2 separate regions of the Homo sapiens genome follow, and region 2 is linked to region 1. Evidence: promoter capture Hi-C in 16 types of primary human blood cells and fetal thymus (Javierre and others, 2016). All regions are on one chromosome and are shown on one strand. Each heading gives the region's core, a stretch centred on a gene start or on the middle of the fragment in contact. The rest is flanking DNA. Distances are from core to core; before and after follow the strand shown. Region 1 holds the start of AGPAT2 (1-acylglycerol-3-phosphate O-acyltransferase 2). Region 2 overlaps SEC16A (SEC16 homolog A, endoplasmic reticulum export factor).

Evidence for each region. The method cuts DNA at HindIII sites, captures the fragments that hold promoters and counts their contacts. A CHiCAGO score of 5 or more calls a contact.
Region 2: a contact is called between a fragment that was not itself captured here and the fragment with the promoter of AGPAT2 in region 1, in 1 of 17 cell types (endothelial precursors). The highest score is 7.0, in endothelial precursors.

The regions. Positions count from the first base shown.
Region 1 is chr9:136,684,067-136,689,516 of GRCh38, forward strand. It overlaps AGPAT2 (1-acylglycerol-3-phosphate O-acyltransferase 2), which reads right to left and starts at 3,391. Exons shown (of 6, transcript NM_006412.4): 1 at 3,110-3,391. The coding sequence starts at 3,291. RefSeq lists an enhancer at 1,996-2,857 and silencers at 2,578-3,147, 3,368-3,567, 4,038-4,117. The HindIII fragment of the contact is 21,227 bases long and covers 1-5,450 here.
Region 2 is chr9:136,450,936-136,455,928 of GRCh38, forward strand. It overlaps SEC16A (SEC16 homolog A, endoplasmic reticulum export factor), which reads right to left. Exons shown (of 32, transcript NM_014866.2): 20 at 4,666-4,858; 21 at 3,174-3,392; 22 at 2,493-2,575; 23 at 321-473. Among named protein-coding and RNA genes, the nearest start is that of INPP5E, 14 kb to the left of the region's middle. The HindIII fragment of the contact is 1,101 bases long and covers 2,947-4,047 here.

The DNA of each region.
Region 1 (5,450 bases), core at 2,141-4,640:
TCAATTCGGGGAGCATCCTTAAGAGGAAGAGCACCCCTTTTCTGTCTGGGACCCTGAAAATGGTGGGAATAGAGGTCAAAGGAGCCGGAAACTAACTGCTGTTTCCCTAGGCTGCCCATCTGGTCTCCTTTGCTGTATGAAAAAGTAAACTTCTCTGTGGATTAAGCTGCTGTCTTGAGGGTTTTCTGATCCTGTAGCTGAACCCAGCTGTAGGACACGGAGCCGCTCTGGGCTTTGCTTTCCTCTGTCGAATGGATGTACCAGGGCATCGGCCCCTGGTGAGGAAACGTCCCCTGCAGCTCCACCGTAACTGCGCACACAGGGAAGGGCTCAGGGGACACCCCCTGCCTGGAAGGGGTCCGTGGTCTCAGCCCCAAGCCCGGTGGGAACGAAGGCTGCCTCAGAGGTTCTAGTCCCATCACTGTCCCTCACACGCTCAGAACTACGGTGTAGACGGTGGGGGTCTCTTGGGTGCCGCCTGGAACCCCGTGGGGAGGGGCTGGGCCTCAGCCAGGGCAGCCATTGCTCAGGGGCAAGATGGAGCGCCCCTCCCAGAGCTCAGGCCTGCCGCAGGGCTGCCTCACCAGCCCCAAGCGCTGGGCTGGGAACAAGGGGAAAGGGAAAAGCAGGTACTCTGGAGTCACTGTCAGTGGGTTCGAACCCCAGTTCCACCCCATCCTGGCTTGGGGACCCTGCCCCAGTTTCAAGTTGCTTATCTCAGCCTCAGTGTCCTTATTTGTAACACAGAGCACACGCGAATCCCTGTTCCTGAGGCTGGAGGCACCCGTGGCGTACAGCAGGAACAGAGGCCGAGTATCCCCTCCTTCCCTTCCAGCCCCCCGGGTCCCTTCCCTGGAGTGACAAAGCGCCTGCTCTTCATCTGCCTTTCTCACCCCTCCCGACGGCCCCCACGGAGGGAACGCACGTTCGCAACAGCCCCACTCTTAGCCATTGCTGGGAGTCTTGGAAGTCATCAGGGACCCTGGGGCCTGGGGAGCACGTGCAGAGGTGTGGGGGAAGGTAGCCATGGAGCCCCAGGCCTCTCCTCCAGACTGCCCTGCCCTCTGGCCCTCCCTTCTCTTCAGGGACCAAAGCAGGAACAAAGCACCTGCTGTTAGTAGCCAGTGTCCCGGAAGCCACTACTCCACAGGCCTGAGCCTGGGTGCTGCCCTGGAGAGGTGAGGGCGGCAGGAGGGTCCCATCCAAGCACCATCAGAGGCCCCAGGTCCCGAGGACACCCAGGTTAGCCAGAATCTCCAAGCTGAGATGGGGACAGGGCCCAGTGGGGCAGCAGGGCCAGTGCCAGCCAACCCAGCCTGCCAGGTCCATAGAAAGGGCAGCAGGTGAACTGTGATTTGGTCCCTGGAAAACAGCTAGGAAGTCCAGGCAGAGGCCCCTGCAGAACAAGCCAGGCTTTCTCACACGAGGAGGCCGCCGATGAAGAGGCCCGTGGCCTGTGGCCTGGCTCAGTAGTGGGGTCTGCTCCAGGGTCTCCTAAGTCAGGTGCCCCATCATTTCTGCCAAAAGAACAGGACCCCGTCCCCTGTCCACACCCCAGGACACGCCCAGCACAGGATGCCCTGCAGGCATCAGAACCACACAAGCCATTTCCTCGGGGTGGGGGGCACCCCAAGGAACCCACAGACTGGCCCCTCCTCAGCTGGGAAAGCCGCACCCTCGCCCCTACTCTGAAGCACCCCAGGGGCTGAGGGGGGCCCCTCACAGAGACCCCTGCCTACAGGGGATCCCAGGGCCAGAACCACAGGTGAGGCCTTCACAGATTCCAGCACAGGTGCCCAGAGCCCAGCCCCCAGGAACTCCCTGTTTCTGCAAACTGCCTTCCTCGCTGAAGGGTGCTCCACTGGGGACGTCAGCGCCAGTCACCACCTGGGCCAGCCCTGGAGTGTGCGCTCCCCGGGACCCCGGCCTGGGCCACCTGGCCCACATCACCACTGGTCACACACGTCTGGCTGAGCAGCCAGCAGGCCCTTCTCGGACTCTCCATGCTCACCATCAGGCCCAGGGTCCTCCTTCATATTCCTGGAGCTTCTGGGGCTCCGTTGGAAGCCATGACTGTAGGCCCGTTCCAGCAGCCTCAGTGCCCTCCCAGGGCTGGCAAGGACAGCGAGTGCAGGGAGCTAGCAAACCCTCACCCACTGCCCCTGGAACCACGGGGAAGGGGGCCTCTGGGGCCACAATGCCCCCACCCCAGGCCATTGCAAAAGCCACTGGCTGGGCAGTCCAAACAGGGCAGGGAGAAATGTAGCAACAGCCTGGGGACGGCTAACAGGGAGAGGGGGCAGGCAAGAGCCTTCTCCAGCAGCCACCCCGCCCAGGAGCAGGCAGCCCCCGCCGTCTTTGGCAGCCCAGTCTGACCTCTGGCCCCCAACCCCAGCCTGGCAAAACCAAGCTCCCACCTTCTGGAAGGCGTCCAGGGGAAAATTTCAGCCCCGCCGAACCCTAGTCCTAACTCTTCCTTCCCTTCGCTTGGAAGCTGGGCCCCCGGAGCTGTAGGCCAGGGGCGCGCTCCCCAGCACGGAAGCAGGTCCCCTCCGGGTCCCCCACCTCCCTGCGAAGAGGAAAGGGAGAGAAAGGGGAACCCGCCCCACAGGTGCGCCCATCACCGGGCGGACAGTCAGGAGGGGGTCGGAGGGAGGCCGAGGGGTGCCCCCACGCCGTCGTGCGCCCTGATCAATAGCCCTGGGGCAAGTCCCCGCCGCCCCGGCCTCGGTTTCCCCGCTCAGGAAGCAGGGCTGAGCCTCTCCCAGCGCGGACCGGCCCCCTTTCTCTCCGAAAGCTGCTCCACCCCCGGAACCCCACGCCGGGCTGCAGGGACGCGGCGGAGGCCGAAACCGGTGTAGACGCCCGGGGCCAGGGCGGGGGGTGGGGTGCTGGGCACTGTGACGCCGGCTCCTTGACCCCGTGACTCCGGGACCCCCTGACTCCGGGACCCCCTCCTGTGCCTGCCGCCGGCCCAGGCGCGCTCTCCCCGGAGCCCCGGAGCGGGGCGGGACGGGCGGGGCAGGAAGGAGGGAAGCCCAGAAGAAAGTTAGGGAAGCGGAAGCGGCGCGGCGGTTCCCCGGCCCCTCCCGGCGGCCCCCGGCCTTGCCTCATGTTCTCCACCGTCCGGCCGCCGTGGCGCAGCAGGCAGACGAGCGAGGCCACGGCGGACACCGTGAAGCACAGCGCGCAGTACAGGGCGACCTTGGCGTAGAACTCGGCCGCGCGGCTCAGCTGCACCAGCAGCAGCAGCAACAGCAGCGCCGCGGCCAGACACGGCCACAGCTCCATGGCCCGGCCCGGCGCCCGACGGCGCCGCCAGCTCGCTCCCGCTCCCGCTCCCGCTTCTCCCCCGCGCGCTCAGGCCCCTTATTGCGAGGGCGGCGGGGCTGGGCGGGGCGGGGCGCGGCGTGGGGGAGGAGCGCGCGGCAGGGAAGGGCTAGGTGCGGCGCCCCGCCCCGACACTGTCCCCAACAACGCCCCGACACGGTCCCCTCACCAGGCCCCGCCCCGCCACTGTCCCCAACCCCGCCCCGACACGGCCCCCCCTTCCCGCCCTGGGTCACCCGGCCCGGACCTCCCCTCCACGCTCCCTCCCCACAGCCTTCTGCCAGGTTACCGAGGCTCTGGCGCTCTGCTCCCACCCTCCCGGTCCCAGGGGACCCCCCCATCATGGCTTGCCGGTGGCTCGGGCTCTGGCGCTGCCCCCCATGGTCTGGGCCTCCTGCCCCGCCCGGTGCCCCCTCCCCCCGCTGCCGGGGCAGCCACAGGCTCCCGCGCGCAGAACCACAGCTCCCCAAGGGCGTAAAACCAGCGGGGATGCGCCCGTGCCAGGCCGGTGGCCACGCAAAGGGCCGCCGGAACCGCCCCCGAGTGACCAGTGGCCACCTGGCAGAAAGCCTGGCTCTTAGGGTGTTCTCGGTCCCCTGCGGGGAGACTCGTGGGGGCGCGCAGGCCAACTGGGGCGTGTGTCTGGGCGGGGCTGGGTTGCCCCACCCTGGGTGCCAGAAGTAGCCTTGTCACCAGGGACGCTCCGGGGGCAGGCGAGGTGGGTGTCAGGTGGCGGCGTTCACATCCGCTTGGCAGCACGGCCAGCGTGGCAGGGCAAGGTGCAGCTGGGACAAGGGCAGCAGTCACCTGGCCCGGCCCCCACCCGGCGTCCCACCTCAGGGAGCAGATGGAGATTGAAAAGCAGTTTCCTGGGGTCCCTCCTCATAGGGACTCTTGGGTTTGCTGCAGTTGCGGGAGTGCTGGCCGCCCTGCGCTCTAACGGGTCAGCAGGGGAGCACGGCCCCTCTTTTTTCAGATGCAGAGTTGAGCTGTTAAAACATTTCCCTGAACATTGTAACCACCCCCCAAACTGTACTGAGAGAATGACAAATACAGAAACTGCTCTTCAAATGAATGGGGAACTGCGGTCCTGAAGGACGTGGGGTCTCGCTGCCTGGGCTCAGCAGCCCCTGCCCAGGCGGTCCCAGCTTTTCTTGAAAGTGGAGACACATCCTTTTGCCTTAGGCCTGTAGGCATCTTACAGCGAAACCCAGGAGAGCATTTTCCAGCCCAGTCTCCTTCCAGATCCATATGGGCTTCATCTGGAATCAGCTTGGAGGGCCTGGCTTGACCTCTTTCCACGCTTGGAGCCGGAACTGCACACCCCGCAGCCGGGAGGTCTGAGAGCTGCACTGCTGTGCCTCTGAGAGGCTGAGAGGTGGCTGCTGACGGCTGCGGGGTTTTCATCTTCCAGGGCAGATGAGGTGGGTGCACCCTGCAGACAGGAGTGCCGCTGCCGGGAGCTGGGGGATGCGGGGGTGTGGGCTGGGGTCCCAGGTGGACTTCCTGGAGGAGTGGGGCTTCACAGCACCTTCAGCTGGAGGCTCTGTGCACCCAGGTCCCGAGCAGGTTGTACCCTGGCTGTGGAATCCAGTCCTCACAACCATCAGGCCTGTCCAGGGGCTTTACATGCCAGCCCCCTTCTTGTCCTTTACCTCCCAGCCCACCGACCTTTCCAGGGTGGCCACCATCTTCCTGCACCCCTAGGTGACTGTGTGTGTGTTGGACACCTCTCCCTCCTCTCCTCCCCCCGGAATGGAGCCCGTGGGGCCTCATCTGTTTTGTGCACCATGTGCGACCAGCACTCAGGCCAATGTCTGGCACATAGCAGGTGCTCAGCACACACTTTCCATAGTAGCAAAGGCATCCCCATTTTACAGAGGGAAAACTGAGGCTCTCAAGGGTGAACACCAGACAGCCGGGACGTGACAGAGGAAAAGAGGCTGACTCTGAGCCGGAAGACTCCTGCCAGGGCTGGCAGGAACAGTGCCAGGGCAGCACACGGTGACCCTGTTGCCTCCCCAGACAAGGTGGGGTTTTGCCCACTGCTCTCCTGAAGAGGGTGAGACCTAATTTCACCTCCTCCCTCTTCTCTGCACCTTGCAGAAGTGTTGAGAGAA
Region 2 (4,993 bases), core at 2,247-4,746, 230 kb before region 1:
GCCGGCAGCAGGCACACACCACAGTGACAAAGCAGCGGCTGCCGTCTGGTCCCTTGCGGGTGGGTCTGACAGGTAGTGGCCAGAGGCGACCTCTGGGGGCCGGGCTGTGTCCCCATGCTGACCTGGGTGGGCTATTATCCTATTATCTGAAGGCACAAATACACAGACACCCATCATGCCGTGTGCACTGTAGACACTCGGCTGTTTGTATCAGGAGGCTATTTGCATGTGTGGTGAATTAAGAGGATGGCGCTCTGGGAAGCGTGCCTCCTGCCCAAACCCTCCCGGCCGCCAGGCGCACCGTGGGCAGGCTGTACTACCTTCTTAGGTTCCTTCGTTTCTTTCTTGGCTGCCTGTCCGGGTCTCTTTGTTTCGGGAGCGGGTGAGAGAGACAGAGGTGGCTGCGTGGGACCCGAGTCGGCACGATCCCACCCTGGGGGGGCCTCCGAGTCTGGCACCGTCCTCGAGGGGGTCTGTCGCAAGGAAATGCAGAACAGGCTCTCCTGGGGCTCCTCACAGGAACCGAAAGAGAGAGGGGGATGCAATTCCCCAGGCGTGTTTCCTAAATACATCACTGAGAGGCCGGATGACTCTGGTGACCAGAGGGAGGCAGGAAGGGGGCTGGGGAGAGCAGCCCCCTGACTGGGCCTCCCAGAGCCTCTACCTGGCCTGACTAGAGAAGAGCCAGCCGCACTTAATAAGCAGCTCCGTCTGGGAGCACTCAGCACTCAGAATGCAAATGAGGGCGTTCGATGGAGATTCCGGGCTGGAAGAAACGGAGTGTGAGCATGCACTGAGGGAAGACTGGCCAGAGGGGGGCGATGGGTGTTCTCAAAGATACAATGATTTTTAAAAATATTTATTCCTGGGTCAAGTCCCAATTTTTAATAGCTCAACCCTCATTTTTACTTTTCCAGGGACACAGTATTTTAAAGGGTAAAACACCTAATGCAAGTTCAAACTATAGCAATCGCCTACTGATGGGATGCCCGTGAAGGGCTGGGTATCTGTAAAGAAGGTTCCAGAATGCGGTCTGTATAAAAGCAACCATCCCTCCTGGTTAGGAGTAGAGCAAACAGAGGAGGTATTTATACCAAACATGTCTAATGAGATAAATCTCACTTTCAGGAAAACCAGTGACAATGTTAGAAATTCTACTGAATTCCAGGACATCCTCTTGTGAGATCAAAAAATTAGAAAAGAAATTCTACTGTAGAAAAAGAGACGGCCGGGCTGGGCGGGGTGGCTCATGCCTGTAATCCCAGCACTTTGGGAGGCTGAGGCAGGTGGATCATGAGGTCAGGAGTTCAAGATCAGCCTGGCCAAGATGGTGAAACCCCATCTCTACTAAAAATACAAAAAAAAATGAGCTGGGTGTGGTGGTGGGCGCCTGTAGTCCCAGCTACTCAGGAGGCTGAGGCAGAGAATTGCTTAAACCTGGGAGGCAGAGGATGCAGTGAGCCAAGATCGCACCACTGCACTCCAGGCTGGGCGACAGAGAGAAACTCCATCTCAAAAAAAAAAAAAAAAAAAAAAAAAAAAAGAGATGGCCAGGTGCAGTGGTTCACACCTTAATCCCAGCACTTTGGGAGGCTGAGGCAGGCAGATCACTTGAGGTCAGGAGTTCGAGACTAGCCTGGCCAACATGGCGAAACCCTGTCTCTACCAAAAAATACAAAAAATTAGCCAGGCATGGTGGCACATGCCTGTAGTCCCAGCTACTTGGGAGGCTGAGGCTGGAGAATCACTTGAACCTGGGAGGCGGAGGTTGCAGTGGCCAAGATGGCGCCACTGCATTCCAGCCTAGGCGACAGAGCGAAACTATGTCTTAGGGAAAAAAAAAAAAAAAAAAAAAGGCCAGGCTTGGTGGATCACACCTGTAATCCCAGCACTTTGGGAGGCTGAGGCGGGTAGATCATGAGGTCAGGAGTTTAAGACCAGCCTGGCCAACATGGTGAAACCCCATCTCTACTAAAAATACAAAAACTAGCCGGGCATGGTGGCACACACCTGTAGTCCCAGCTACTTGTGAGGCTGAGGCACAGAACTGCTTGAACCCAGGAGGTGGAGGTTGCAGTGAGCCGAGATCGCACCACTGCACTCAAGCCTGGGCGACAGAGCAAGAATCTGTCTCAAAAAAAAAAAAAAGAAAAAAAAAAGAAAAAGAGATGTAGAAATCAGAGAAGGTACCCATTTTGGAAGAATTAAAATTAATAAGGGGATTTCATGATATTTGGGTATTTCTTCTACTTAAAGTAACTGTTTTTACACTACTGAATTCTCTCTTCCCCATCTTTCCCTGCCAGTGTTTTCACCAACTCTTCATATTTTAAGGATGAAAGCTATTTAGAAGCACTTTCACTTTAAGAAACAATTTTAGAAACAATTTCATAGTCCTCACTACCATCATCTTACAACTCAACAAGGAGTCTGGGTGCCCACTCGATGAACTTTATGGAAAACAAACAGTTTAAGAAAATGTGACAAAGTACCAGATTAGCAAATTTTCCATCAAAATTTTCTTCGCTTAGCTCGGAAAGTGAGTTTCCAACAGGCGCCTCCTGCGGCACTATCCCTGTCAACGGGAAAGAGAGCAACTATGATCTCAGTCACGAGAAGGCGGGACGTGTGTGTGGCGCACAGATCAACAGGCACACCACCTTCCCACCCAGCTACCGCCACACCAGCATGATCTGCAGAAACCAAGGCTGAACATCTTCCCACATGTGTGCACACTCTTTCATTTTTAAAACTAGGCCTATGTTTTGCTTTGTCCATATACACACATGTAGACATAGGCACAGACCAGGGACAAGATCCACCAAATCGAGTTCCAGACAGTTCATGACCTGCCCCTGTGCATCTCACCAGGCGTCCAGCAGGGCCGTCTAAAGACAGACCCCAGGAGACCCATGGCCACCATGCCCTGCCCCAAATGGCCATTTAAGCTTCACAACAAAAAGCCAAGTTACAAAAGGAACTGGCATTAACACTGCTGTTGTAGTGAGACTCTGAACCCATCCAGTCTGTAACTTCCAGAATTTCTGGTCTACGTTAAGACAAGTAATGTAAGTTGTTTCAAGCTCAAATAACTTCAATCTCTTCCACCAATCCCCACAAACACCACACCCCATGCTGCTTCTGCTCTCGAGACAGCATCTCTGCAGCCCCACCTGGGTCTGGGCTCCTGGCTTCCTGGAGCAAGTGTCTCCTTTCCTGCAGAGGTGGCACACCAGGTGGGAGGCCAGGCCCGGAGGGCTCCAGGAAGCCAAGTGCAGGCCCTGGGGTCACACAGCCAGGACCCGGCTCCAGGGGCCCCGGGGGCAGTGGCACTGGGAACATCGGCACTCTGGCAGGACTGGCCAATGGGCCGTCAGGGAGCGTCTGCGGAGCTGCATGGGAACGGTGGAGAAGAGGTCTGGGGTTACTGAGGGTAGCTTGAGTTACTGGAAGGAGCTGACACTCGACGTGTTTATGACAAGTTATTTTGTACAGCCCCATTTCTTTTATAAGGGAGGTCCAACAGAGCAGAAAGCCTGAAGCCACCACCCCACCGCACCATCCGTGGTTTGCAGAAAAGCAGAGTATCCGCTTCCTTTTCTAGGGGAGGGGCACTTGAGCAGTCACAGCGGCACGCGGGCTCCAGGGCCCGGCCCACACGCAAGCCCATGGCGGCCGCCTGGCACAGAGCTCTGCTAGGCCCGAGTCCCCTCCTCCACGGCCAGGGGTCACACAGGCCACTCGTTCATTCCTTCATTCTTCCGACTCAACATAAAACCTGAGAGGGCTGCTGCCTACCAGCACCATGCTGGGCCCTGGATGCTTCAACAACAAAAGAAATGCTGGGTCCTCATGGGGGTCGGGACAGATGAACTGAGTAAGAGAAAGCGCTAAGGACAGCAATCAACCAGGAAGTGGTAACGGTGTCTGAGGACGAAGCAGACTGGACATCAGGCAGGGAGGGTGGGCAGTGGGCCCAAATCAGGAGTGTGGCTGGTCCACAGCGTGGGAGTGGACATGGCACGAGGGCAGGAGGGCTCAGGGCCAAGCTTGGAGGGCCTGTGGCCACCGTGAGGACCCTGGCTTGTCCTCAGGTGAGATGGAGAGTCTGGAGGGTCTGGGGAAGAAGCAGGAGGCGAGCAGGAAGGAGCCCGTGCTCATCCAGGCATGCGGACCTGCGTGCAGGCCGCGCTGGTGAGGTTCACTGACGAAGGAAGCCGAGAAGCGCGAGAGAGGAGGGGGCATCTGGACTTGACTCCCTGGAGCTCTGGGCTGGCCCTTCCACCGACGGGGCCGACTGGGAGAAGCAGGTTACAGAGGGGCACAGCCGAGGGCGCCGCCCAGACACGGTGCGGCTGAGGCTCCCGGAGAAACAAGCAGGGAGGCTGAGCAGGCAGCGGGCGCTCAGGGCAGTGTCGCCAGCACATGGATATTTATGGACATGGAAAGCCATGAGCCTCCCCTCCATGGGCTCCTCAGGGGAGGAAGCATGAAGGGAAGAGGGAGGAGACCGAGGAGCCCCACAACCACCGAGGTGGTGTGAGACACTGCCTCCAACAGTCCACATCTGAAAGCAGTTCTCCAGGAGGCAAGGGTGCAGGCCATGGCTCAGCCCACAGGAAGCAGGGGCTTGTCTGAGGGCAGCAGCCGCGCACCTGGGCTCACCTGAGGGCAGCAGCCGCACGCTCGGGCTCGAGTGCTCAGGGCTCGGTGCAGGCACCGCCAGCAGAGGGTTGGCGATCCCCAGGGCTCCTGGCTGACTGAGTCCTGGCCTGTCCAACTGCTCCATCTCGGAACTCGGAGTGCCAGGACACTGCTGCGGGAGGGCTCCATCCTGATGCCATACTCCAGCCCCCTCCTGAGGGAGAACAAGACCTGCCCTGTGGAAGCCGCCTGTGGCCGCTCTGCAGCGCTGCCCGCCTGCCACCACCGCGCTTGCTGTGTCCCTACTTCAGGACAGGAGGCACTCAAAGCCCTTTCTGGGGAATTAGGG